2 separate regions of the Homo sapiens genome follow, and region 1 is linked to region 2. Evidence: promoter capture Hi-C in human tissues and cell types (Jung and others, 2019). All regions are on one chromosome and are shown on one strand. Each heading gives the region's core, a stretch centred on a gene start or on the middle of the fragment in contact. The rest is flanking DNA. Distances are from core to core; before and after follow the strand shown. Region 1 holds the start of ATP1B2 (ATPase Na+/K+ transporting subunit beta 2). Region 2 holds the start of EIF4A1 (eukaryotic translation initiation factor 4A1).

Region 1 (6,305 bases), core at 3,002-5,501, 78 kb after region 2:
TTCAGCCAGACTCCAGATGAGTATAAGGTAAGCACATTATGTCTGCAACTGAATATGTGAGGCTGAGCCCGGCCAGCTGCTGAATTGGACGTGAACATGGAAAAGCTCCCTCTGCAAGGAACCTCAACAACAATGGCTCCTGCCTGTAATTCCAGCACTTTGAGTGACCCAGGCGGGAGGATCCCTTGAGCCCAGGAGTTCAACACAAGCCTTGGCAATATGGCGAGACCCCATCTCTATGAAAAACTTCTTTAAAAATTAGCCAGGCATTTTAGCCAGGTGGACTAGTAGACAGGCATTTAGCCCGGTGAGACTAGTAGCCACTGGGCTACTCCCAGCTACTTAGGAGGCTGAGCTGGGAGGATTGGATCACCATGATCACGCCACTGCACTCCAGCCTAGGTGACAGAATAAGAGACTATCTCAAAAAAAAAAAAAAAAAAAAAGAGTAAGTGGGAGTGCTGACAGCTGAGAGACCACACTCTCCACTGGAAGCAGAACTTGGCTATGAACGTGGAAAGGAAGCAATGGCATTGTAGGAGGCATGGATGATCACCATACCTTACCAGATCTTTTCTTAGTCATGTCCCTGTTTTGGCCACTTACGCTGGCAACAATGACATAGAAGGAAAGGGAAGGCTGAGGCAACCCATAGTTCCTTTTCCTTTCAGTCCTTCCTTCCTTATCAGGAAGCTGAAGATAGAAAAATGTTAGGCGGGGCTCACACCTGCAATCCTAGCACTTTGGGAGGCCAAGATGGCAGGATTGCTTGAGGCCAGGAGTTTGAGACCAGCCTCGTCAACACAGAGACCTCCATCTTTGTTTTTTAAGAGACCCCCCATCTCTAAAAAAGAAAGAGAAAGAGACCGGGTGCGGTGGCTCACGCCTGTAATCCCAGCATTTTGGGAGGCCGAGGTGGGCGGATCACGAGGTCAGGAGTTCCAGACCAGACTGACCAACATGGTGAAATCCCATCTCTACTAAAAATACAAAAATTAGCCAGGCGTGGTTGTGCACGCCTGTAATCCCAGCTACTCAGGAGGCTGAGGCAGGAGAATCGCTTGAACCCGGGAGGTGGAAGTTGCAGCGAGCCAAGATCGCGCCATTGCACTCCAGCCTGGGCGACAGAGTGAGACTCCGTCTCAAAAAAAGAAAAAAAAAACATGTAAACATTAAATAGCAAAGAAAAAAACACCATGAGAAAGCCAGGTGTGGTGATGTGTGCCTGCAGCCCCAACTACCTGGAGGCTGAGACTGGAAGGTCGTTCATGGACATGCTGGGTACGGTGGCTCACACTTGTGATTTCAGCACTTTGGGAGGCTGATGTGGGTGGATCCCTTGAGTCCAGGAGTCCAGGAGTTCCACACCAGCCTGGCCAACACGGCAAAACCCTGTCTCTAGTAAAAATACAAAAATTAGCCGGGCATGGTGGCCTGTGCCTGTAATCCCAGCTACTCAAGAGGCTGAGACAGAAGAATTGCTTGAACCTGGGAAGTGGAGGTTGCAGTGAGCCAAGATCGCGTCACTGCACTCCAGTCTGGGTGACATAGCAAGACCCTGTCTCTAAAACAAAAAACCATGAGAAGCTGAAAGAACTATGGATGAAAGGAAAATAGTTTAGGCTGGGTGCGGTTGTTCACACCTGTAATCCCAGCACTTTGCGAGGCCAAGGTAGGTGGATCATTTGAGGTCAGGAACTCAAAACTAGCCTGGCCAACATGGTGAAATCCCATCTCTACAAAAAAATACAGAAATTAGCCGGGCGTGGTGGTAGTCCCAGCTACCCGGGAGACTGAGGGAGGAACCGCTTGAACCCTGGAGGCAGAGGCTGCAGTGAGCAGATATCATGCCACTGCACTCCAGCCTGGGTGACACAGTGAGACTCTGTCTCCAAAAAAAAAAAAAAAAAAAAAAAAAAAAAAAGTTTATATTTTAGTGCCTCTAAGGGCATTTTTTCCCCTAGGTTTTGAACAAGGGTCCCTGCATTTCCATTTTGCACTGGATCCTGACAATTATGCAGCTGGCCATGCTTCAGTCTATTCTGCAGCAGATTCGGGATTAATTTTCTCAAAATACAGCTTTAATTAGGCCACTCCTCAGCTGAAAGTTCTTCAGTGGCTTCTTATTAGCCTGTAGGATAGAGTCCTGATTCTTCAGTCTAACCTGCAGGGTACTCCGCAATCCACACCCATGCTGTGTCCCCAACCTCCTTTCCCACTAGTCTCCGACTAGTTCTCTCCTGGAGCCAAGCCAGCCACTCCTGGGGTAGACTGTGCTTACTCCTGACTTCACACCTCTGTGCCTTTCATTCCTTTGTCCTGGAAGACTACCTACCCTTCAGAGGCCAGCCCCAACTCCCATTCATTCATTCATTCATTCAATGCATACCATTTTTTTGAGATGGAGTTTTGCTCTTGTCCAGGCTGGAGTGCAGTGACACAATCTCGGCTCACTGCAACCTCCACCTTCCAGGTTCAAGCAATTCTCTTGCCTCAGCCTCCTGAGTAGCTGGGATTACAGGCTCCCACCACCGCACCCGGCTAATTTTTTTAGTTTTAGTAGAGACGCAGTTTCACCATGTTGGCCAGGCTGGTCTTGAACTCCTGACCTCTGGTCTCGAACTCCCTTGCTCAGGTGATCCATTGGCCTCGGCCTCCTATAGAGCTGGGATTACAGGCATGAGCCACTGGGCCTGGCCGAGATAATGATTTTTTTTTTCTCTCTTTTTTTGAGACGAAGTCTCACTCTATTGCCCAAGCTGGAGTGCAATGGCGTGATCTCAGCTCACTGCAAGCTCCGCCTCCCGGGTTCAAGCAATTCTCCTGCTTCAGCCTCCTGAGTAGCTGGGACTACAGGCACCCACCACCATGCCCAGCTAATTTTTTTTTTTTTTTTTATTGAGACGGAAGCTCTGTTGCCCAGGCTGGAGTGCAGTGGAGCGATCTCGGCTCACTGCAAGCTCCGCCTCCCGGGTTCATGCCATTCTCCTGCCTCAGCCTCCCAAGTAGCTGGGACTACAAGCTCCCGCCACGACGCCCAGCTAATTTTTTTTTTTTGTATTTTTAGTAGGGACGGGGTTTCACTGTGTTATCCAGGATGGTCTCGATCTCCTGACCTCGTGATCCACCCACCTCGGCCTCCCAAAGTGCTGGGATTACTGGCGTGAGCCACCGCGCCTGGCCTAATTTTGCATTTTTAAGTAGAGACGGGGTTTCACCATGTGGGCAAGGCTAGTCTCGAACTCCTGACTTCGTGATCTGCCCGCCTCGGCCTCCCAAAATGCTGGGATTACAGGCATAAGCCACCGTGCCCGGCTTGAGATAATGATTCTTAACATGTGGTATGTAGAGCAAGTGTACTCCCGCCCTAGACTGTGAGCCCCGTGAGAGATGTGGCTTCAGTGTAACCTCTCTGGCCTCCCCAGGGCTACAGCACACAGTCTATAGAGGTGCTCAATAAATGTTTGTTGACCCAAGTAGACACATAAGGAGGTGAGTTCCGACGTGGGGGTGGGGGTGCCAGGAGGCAGAGAACCGAAGTAGACCTGGCTGCAGGGCTGGGATCTCAGGGCAGTGCTGGGGACTGGGAATGTGGTGTTGAGAGGGCTTCAGGGAGACGTGATGGGAAGATGGGGAAGCCTCTGCACGTGGACAGAGCCAGGTGGTGTGGACAGGGGCTGTGAGATTGGAGAAGGAGGCGTCTGGGGGACTGGTAGCGGCTCCCAACAGGGGAACGTCCCTCTGGGGGTGGCCTTTATCCATCTCTGCGGGGCCTGTCCTAGCTTCCCTCCTGGCTCGGCCAGCCTCCCGGCTGGTCTCTTCGCTCTCTTTCTTGATCTCTAGCTCTTTATTCCTCTGACATTCTGCCCCATCTGCTCCCGGACTCTTCCGCCGCATCTGTATCTTAGTCTCTTTCTAACTCCCTGCCTGGGGCCCCCACCTTTGAGCATATATCGGCTTCTCTCTCTGCCGTTGTGTTTCTCTGGGGTTATCTTTCCCTCTACTCCGCCCGGACACGCCCTCTATCTCTTCCTCCCACCCTGTCCCAGTCTAGTACCTGGGGTGGGGGTAATGGAGAGACAGCTAGGTCCCTAAGAGAAGTCAGGGGGGCGGGCCCAACCTCTCCATATTTACATATGTATGAGGTCGCCTGGGCCAGTGGCGAGGAGGCGGAGCTTCTGGGGGTGGGAAGGGGGCGGGCACCCCCAGAGCCGCAGAGTATAAAGACCGCGCTCGGCGACCGCGGGCCTCGCACTGCTGAGGAGCGGAGCCTCCGCCTGGGGGGCCCCCCATCCCTGGCTGTCCCCCAGCTGCGCGTCCCCGCCCCACCCCCGCGGCTGAGCCACCACCGGTGCAGTGGTCTCCGCTTGGCGGAGCGAGCCTTGAGCTTCGTTCCACAGCTTCTTTGCATCTTGGATTTCGGGGCGGCCCCCTCCCCCACCTCTCTCTGCCTTTTTGTACCCCGCTTTTTTTCTGCGTTCTGCTCGGTTTTTGTAGCCGTCTGTTTTTGCACCCCATTTCGTTTTGTTTCTAGACGGTTTGGTGGGGGGTGAAGCTGCATTCATACCCCTTCCTCTTGTTATTCTCCCCTGCTCTGACAGCACCCCTTTTCATCGCAGTTGGGGGGCCTAGGATCGGTGCATCTTCCGCCGCGCTGCCAGCACCCCGCAGCGCGTGGTCGTGCACCCCGGAATCTGCAGCAGCTGCATATCTGAGGGGGGTCTCCTTTGCCCGCGCCGCCTTCGCTCCCCGTGCTTTTGGGTGTGTGGAGGGCTTCAGCGCGCGGCGCCCCCGCTTCTCCGCAACCCCCCGCCCCGCGCCCGGACTCGCCCCGCGCCACCAAGATGGTCATCCAGAAAGAGAAGAAGAGCTGCGGGCAGGTGGTTGAGGAGTGGAAGGAGTTCGTGTGGAACCCGAGGACGCACCAGTTTATGGGCCGCACCGGGACCAGCTGGGGTACGCAGGGCCGGCACGCAAGGGGCGGGGGAAAGCCGCGGGGCGACGCCTCGGGGGCGCAGGGTCCCGCCGACGCGGCCCCAGCTCCCCTCCCGGGTCCCCGGCGTCCAGCCTCCCTGCCGGGCTCTGGGCTGGGAGGGGGCCGAATCGCCAGTCTAATCTCCCCGGCTGGCCGTGCGGAGGCGGAGAAAGTAGGTCACAGCCGCCTTCCCGCCCCCCGCGGAGCCCCCTCGGGCGGGGGGTCGCCAGCTCCGCCTGCGTGTCCGCGCCGGCGCTCACACTCCCTCTCGGGGCCTGTCCGCTCCACACGGGCGTCCCCCACCTCCAAAGAGCGCCCCTTCCCTCCCTCCGGCTCTCACTAGCTCCGCAGCCCCGTCTATTTTTAGCTCGTGCCCACCCCCTGGACCCTGGGAACGTTCATGAGGGGGCGGGTCTTGGGGGGTGTGTTAGGGGGGTTCTTCACGGCGGAAGTTGTCTGTATCCCACCGCCTGGCCTTGGGAGCCTTCTGGGACTGCTTTGTGGGTTGGGGGGCTGCTGATAGTATGAGTTTTACCGAGGCTGCAGGTTTTGCTCCCATGTCGGTGACGGAGGGAGGAGTGGTCGCTGTGGTGATTTGTGTGCATCAGCCAGCCAGGTGTCTGTGACAGTCGGATGACTTGGAAGCCTCCCCAGGCTGACCATGGCAGGACTCAGGGAGCTGTAGTGGTCGGGGGTTGGGGGGGTGGAGGGGGTCTGGTGACCGGCACAGGTGCAGGTGAGGGGTGGAATTCTTCCAAGAGGGATGGTCAAGCTGGGACGTTGAGACACAGGGGACAGAGGACACTGTGTGACACGATTTACAATCTTTCCACACTGGGCACCGTCCCCATCAGTCCACCCATTCGGGGCCTACACGAAGTGGGTCCCATGCAATCCATTCCCTCAGGGAACTCAAACTCCAGCCCCTGGGATGAGAAGAATCCAGCAATGCTTGGGAGAGCCAGAGGACTTCATGGAAGAAGTGTCCTCTGAGATGGAAGGATTGGGAGTCCAGGGTGGTGGGAACAGCCGGCCCTTGGGTCCTTACTTCAGGCGGGGGAGCCATGGAGAGATCCCACCAAGGGAAGGCTGTGGGAGATTCTGCCTTTCCTCCCTGCCTCTGCCCAGGGTGCTGGGTGTGAACTGAGGGTGGGGTGACTGTTGAAGGTTCTAACAAGCCGTCTCTGAGAGATTTGTAGCTAGGCTAGTGTTAGGTCTTTCATTTCAGGAACTGTGTTCAAAGTTTGGCTTCTGAAGGGCACCAGGAGAGAGATGTTGCTATTCAAATCTGAGGGTCCAGTCTCTGCGGGGTGGTATGAGGGTTTGCTTG
Region 2 (5,805 bases), core at 697-3,196:
CTAGAATGTGGCCAGGCAGAATAATGACAGTGACTGTGGTGCTTTTGTGTTGCAGGTAAGCAGATGATGGGGCCACCTCCCCTAGCTCTGAAGTCAGTTGGGTTAAAGGGTCGGGAGGCTGTTATGCATCCCCTCATTTGGCTCATAGTCAGTTGTGGAGCAGGAAGTAATCTGTTTTAGAACACCAAAACACTGGCTTCACTGGTTCTCTTCTGGACTTCTCCATCCCACATTGGGACTGGGTCTCTAGTCTTGGGCCTCTGGCCTTCATAGAGCTCCCTGCTAACCTCCAACTCAGTGTATTTTCTCCATCTAAAACATTCTATCAAGTAAGAACACTAGCTTTAGAGTCAGGCTGTTTTTGAACCCCAGGCTGTGGGACCCTGGCTCCCTTTGGGGATGTTCTCTGAAGGATGGAGACACATCTCATATGAAATGTGTAGCACAGGTCCTGACACGGGGGGTTTCTCATGGCTTGCTTTGTTAACACCCAGTACTGCAAGCATCTGGCCCTGTCTCAGCCATTCAGCTTCACCCAGCAGGACATGCCCAAACTTCGTCGGCAGATCTACAAGGAGCTGTGTCACTGCAAACTCACTGTGTGAGCCTCGTACCCCAGACCCCAAGCCCATAAATGGGAAGGGAGACATGGGAGTCCCTTCCCAAGAAACTCCAGTTCCTTTCCTCTCTTGCCTCTTCCCACTCACTTCCCTTTGGTTTTTCATATTTAAATGTTTCAATTTCTGTATTTTTTTTTCTTTGAGAGAATACTTGTTGATTTCTGATGTGCAGGGGGTGGCTACAGAAAAGCCCCTTTCTTCCTCTGTTTGCAGGGGAGTGTGGCCCTGTGGCCTGGGTGGAGCAGTCATCCTCCCCCTTCCCCGTGCAGGGAGCAGGAAATCAGTGCTGGGGGTGGTGGGCGGACAATAGGATCACTGCCTGCCAGATCTTCAAACTTTTATATATATATATATATATATATATATATATATATATATATATATATATATATATATATATATATATATATAAAAATATATAAATGCCACGGTCCTGCTCTGGTCAATAAAGGATCCTTTGTTGATACGTAAGTGGTGGTCTTCCTTAAGGGGCTTCAAATTAGTGGATATGCTTAGCTCAGACCTTCCAGCCAGTCTCTTGAGACTAAAGGGTTCAGCTTTCCATCCCTGGCTCAGGCACTGCCAACACCTTGTCTTCACCCAAACAAATCCCCGAGATGGGAGCAGAGAGCAGGAAGGAGGGAAAGTAGATAAGCCTCAAGAATAAGGGCATCCGAGAGGGAAGCTGGGGAACTGGACACAAGGGACTGGGGAGGGGACCAACCAGGATTCATGATAGTACCCCAAAGCCCTTTACAGTTTTCTTCCATCCCTCCACCATCCAGCCAGGGGAATCCTCCCATCCCTACGATATCGCTGTTGATTCCTTCATCCCTGGCACACGTCCAGGCAGTGTCGAATCCATCTCTGCTACAGGGGAAAACAAATAACATTTGAGTCCAGTGGAGACCGGGAGCAGAAGTAAAGGGAAGTGATAACCCCCAGAGCCCGGAAGCCTCTGGAGGCTGAGACCTCGCCCCCCTTGCGTGATAGGGCCTACGGAGCCACATGACCAAGGCACTGTCGCCTCCGCACGTGTGAGAGTGCAGGGCCCCAAGATGGCTGCCAGGCCTCGAGGCCTGACTCTTCTATGTCACTTCCGTACCGGCGAGAAAGGCGGGCCCTCCAGCCAATGAGGCTGCGGGGCGGGCCTTCACCTTGATAGGCACTCGAGTTATCCAATGGTGCCTGCGGGCCGGAGCGACTAGGAACTAACGTCATGCCGAGTTGCTGAGCGCCGGCAGGCGGGGCCGGGGCGGCCAAACCAATGCGATGGCCGGGGCGGAGTCGGGCGCTCTATAAGTTGTCGATAGGCGGGCACTCCGCCCTAGTTTCTAAGGATCATGTCTGCGAGCCAGGATTCCCGGTAAGAAAGGCATTTGCAAGAGATTGTGGCTGCTTATTTTGCCGCCCCCTTCCGACGGGCCCGCCGGGGGTAGCTGAGAGGCCCACCAGGGTTGCGGGAGAAACCGAACCGGGTGGGGGGAGGGTCCGACTTGGAGGGGCGAGGGGGAAGACCCACGGCCGACGCGGCCACCAGGTCGAGGCGGAGGGTAGGGACAGCCCGGCTAGGGTCAGGCGTGCGAGGTCTGTTACGAGGCCTCGACCCGAGGCGGTGCCATGCGCGAAGCCCCGGCGCTGAGTGGCGAGACGGGGTCGCGACCTGGCGTGGGAAAGAAAGGTGGAGGCGGCCGCCACTATGTGTGGCCCAGAGCCGGCAGGTCCGGTTGCCTCCCTGTGCCGGGGGAGGGACGGCGCGCGGGGTTCCGGAGCATTCTGACGGTACCACTCGCGAGAGGCGGGGGTGCCTGGTCCTTAGATCCAGTCACTTCGTCGCGGCTAAAACACGGGTCGGGGAGAAGAAACCGGCCGTTCAGTGTGCTGGTTTTCTTGACGGCCAGGACTGAGCCTAACCCCGAGGAGCGGCCGCGTGAGGCACCAGGAGCCCACCCGGCGCCGGGCGGGCGGGTCCATTTTGCCGCACAAGCCGGGCTATTGGCAAACTGCGGATGGGCAGGTCCACCTTCCTTCGGGGGTGAGCGGCCTGAGGTATGGGAGGGCGACGCTACTTCGCGACGGGGGCGGGCGGGATGTGGATTGTTCATGGAGGGGTGGGAGACGCCGCCGGGTGGTCGAGGGAGCGAGCACATGGTGGCCTGAGGCGTTCCCCTCCCCCAGTCTGCTTCGCTTCTAAGTGTTGTGCAATCTCCCCCTTTGCTAGCTCGGCTTGGGCTCATTGTGCGCGAGGCCGCCACCGCCCGCGGCCTCCCACATCCGGGCAACGCGAGGGGGGGGCTTCGGCTGGAGGGAGTGGGGGAGGGCGCGGGCGGGATGACGTGGGGGGAAGGGGATGTCCTACCCTCCGATCTGGGAGGTGAAGGGCGGGACTTCCAGCGCGCTGGTGCTGCGGTGGGAGGTGCACGCGCTTGGGCTTTAAGCGGCTGGGTCGGGCCCACGTGGACCCGGCGGCAAGCACCACCTCTGGGCACCGTGAGCGCGGCGGCACGCCTGCCGGCCTGTCTTCAGAAAGGGTCACCCCCTTATGTCGGGGGTGGCCTGGCCTGAGCCGCTGCCTGCATGGGGCAAATGCCTCAGTTTTATAGAAACTCCTCCTTTGGGTATTTTTTGGGAGCTGGTGGGAGTTGGATCTGGGACAGCAGATTGATGGCATCATGCAGGCCACTCCTGACAGAGCCCGGCTGTCAGGATTTCTGAGTGCTTCGGTCGGGCAGGGGACAAAACTTATGCTTTAAACCAACAGATCCAGAGACAATGGCCCCGATGGGATGGAGCCCGAAGGCGTCATCGAGGTGAGACTGGAGAAATGGAATTCTGTCCTCCCCCATTACAACTTTCAGCCGTATAGAGTTAGAGTGGCCTCTTGATTGATTTCCCAGATCATCTAGAAGCAGCTGGTTTCCCTAAAGGGAGGAGGGTTGTAAGCTCTGAGGCTTTTGTTAGTAGGCACCAGATTCTGTTTGCTCGGAGACTACAGCTCAGCTCCACCTTTTCCATGACTCAAGCTTTAATTTCTTTGCATCCCCTAGAGTAACTGGAATGAGATTGTTGACAGCTTTGATGACATGAACCTCTCGGAGTCCCTTCTCCGTGGCATCTACGCGTATGGTTTTGAGAAGCCCTCTGCCATCCAGCAGCGAGCCATTCTACCTTGTATCAAGGGTGAGACCTCTCAGTCCCAGAAGACATTGTGGACTGTCCCTGACCTGGGTAGAGTGGCATCTGGTTGGTGATGCCCATCTCATATCAGCCAGGGACAAAGCAACTCCTTGTTCATCCCAGCTTGGCTTTTGATCCGTGCCCATGCCTGGTTCATGCCTTGGACACATAGGTTTCCTTTAAAGAGGTGGTATTGTAGCCAGCTTATATTTGCATCTACAGCCATGTTTCTAGTCCAGCTTGGTGTGCAATACTAGATGAGTTAATAACTGGTCCTTGTTTCTGATCTGGTTCCCATTGTGTAACTGTGTTGATTGGGAAGGTAGTTTGTGAGCCATGAAATGCTTGGTTCATTGGTTGCTTATTGACCTCATTAACCTAGGACTTGAATATCCCAAAGGGTATGCTCTTTACCACATTCAACTCCTAATTTATTTGTTTAGGTTATGATGTGATTGCTCAAGCCCAATCTGGGACTGGGAAAACGGCCACATTTGCCATATCGATTCTGCAGCAGATTGAATTAGATCTAAAAGCCACCCAGGCCTTGGTCCTAGCACCCACTCGAGAATTGGCTCAGCAGGTAAGAGTGGCTTCTATTCCCTCCTTCAGGGCTGATTTAGGGATGATGAGTATAATCCAAGGACCAGAGAAGTCTTCTCTGATCACCACCTTGGGAGGAAGACATGGGTGCCCTAACACTCTCGAGACCTGCTGGGTTAATTAAAAGCTATTTCTTACCCAAACGTAACCATTGCTTCCTCCACCCATTTCCTGAGTCAAATGGGAAAGCTGTTGGGTGAAGCCTGGCTGGCTGGGCAAGTTTGACTGTGTTCTGAATAAGCACCTTCACTATGGGCTAAGAGATCCCTTGGTGTGGGGGTGATCTTACAGTAGTCAGAGCAGATGGACAGTCCTTTTCACCCTTGCTTAATAGCCAGAGCTGTTTCATGCCTGGGGCACACACAATTCTAATGCTGGACTTTTTCCTGGGTCATGCTGCAACACTGATGTCAGAGCATGTTTTTAAATGTTCTGTGGCAGGGGCAGTGATTATTCTGGGTGTGGATAATGTAAGAAGTTACAGCAGAGCTCCATTCTAAGGCACTTGGCTCTCAGTTTTCTCAGAGTGAACATGCCTCGTAGCTTGGGTCCTATGGCAGGAGTGCAATAGGACATGGATATGCATCACCTGTTCTATAAAACTGGTTGCTGGCTGGGTGTGGTGGCTCAACTCGTATAATCCCAACACTTTGGGAGGCCAAGGCAGGCAGATCTCTTGAGATCAGGAGTTGGAGACCAGCCTGGCCAACATAGTGAAACCCCGCTTCTACTAAAAATACAAAAATTAGCCAGGCATGGTGGCGTGTGCCTTTTATCCCAGCTACTCGGGAAGCTCAGGCAGGAGAATTTAACCCAGGAGGTGGAGGTTGCAGTGAGCTGAGATTGTGCCATTGCACTCCAGCCTGGGCAACGAGCAAAGCTCTGTCTCAAAAAAAGAAAAAAAAAATGGTTGCTGCGTGATGAGGCAGTTGGTCAAATTAGTTTTCAGAAGGTTAAGGGTTCTAAATATCTAGAGTAAAGAAACTGAATTAATTATCTGAGCGGCCTCATTGTGAATCACTGTACACTCAGGAACCAGACTGAGTTGAAATCCTGTCTTTGCCACCTATTGACAGCACGATCTTAAGTGGATTTTAGCCTCTGCCTGTTTCTCAGCTGAATGTGAGTTTAATAATAGTGCATGCCCCAAAGTTGTTGGTTAGGAATCAATACATGAAAAACATTTAAGAATGGTGCCGGGCACAGTGGTAACTGACATATGAGCACCTGCCTCTCTCTGCTCAGATACAGAAGGTGGTCATGGCACTAGGAGACTACATGGGCGCCTCCTGTCACGCCTGTATCGGGGGCACCAACGTGCGTGCTGAGGTGCAGAAACTGCAGATGGAAGCTCCCCACATCATCGTGGGTACCCCTGGCCGTGTGTTTGATATGCTTAACCGGA

The links. The method cuts DNA at HindIII sites, captures the fragments that hold promoters and counts their contacts. A contact is called where the count stands out against the background at its distance.
Region 1: the fragment with the promoter of ATP1B2 here is called in contact with the fragment with the promoter of EIF4A1 in region 2 in 2 of the 25 tissues and cell types used here (liver and ovary).

What each region holds. Positions count from the first base shown.
Region 1 is chr17:7,646,675-7,652,979 of GRCh38, forward strand. ATP1B2 (ATPase Na+/K+ transporting subunit beta 2) reads left to right here and starts at 4,252. Exons shown (of 7, transcript NM_001678.5): 1 at 4,252-4,956. The coding sequence starts at 4,845. RefSeq lists silencers at 1,206-1,415, 4,162-4,311 and enhancers at 2,904-3,404, 3,405-3,905, 4,180-4,822. The HindIII fragment of the contact is 20,754 bases long and covers 1-6,305 here.
Region 2 is chr17:7,570,879-7,576,683 of GRCh38, forward strand. EIF4A1 (eukaryotic translation initiation factor 4A1) reads left to right here and starts at 1,947. Exons shown (of 11, transcript NM_001416.4): 1 at 1,947-1,986; 2 at 3,382-3,430; 3 at 3,668-3,800; 4 at 4,241-4,380; 5 at 5,646-5,805. The coding sequence starts at 1,964. SENP3 (SUMO specific peptidase 3) reads left to right here. Exons shown (of 11, transcript NM_015670.6): 10 at 5-55; 11 at 495-1,091. The coding sequence ends at 605. It overlaps SENP3-EIF4A1 (SENP3-EIF4A1 readthrough (NMD candidate)), which reads left to right. Exons shown (of 22, transcript NR_037926.1): 10 at 5-55; 11 at 495-601; 12 at 1,406-1,986; 13 at 3,382-3,430; 14 at 3,668-3,800; 15 at 4,241-4,380; 16 at 5,646-5,805. SNORA48 (small nucleolar RNA, H/ACA box 48) reads left to right here and starts at 3,835; the gene lies at 3,835-3,969. RefSeq lists enhancers at 1,285-1,344, 1,375-1,424, 1,445-1,504, 1,625-1,694, 2,201-2,956 and 2 more and silencers at 1,865-1,924, 1,935-1,994, 2,895-3,034. The HindIII fragment of the contact is 10,064 bases long and covers 1-5,805 here.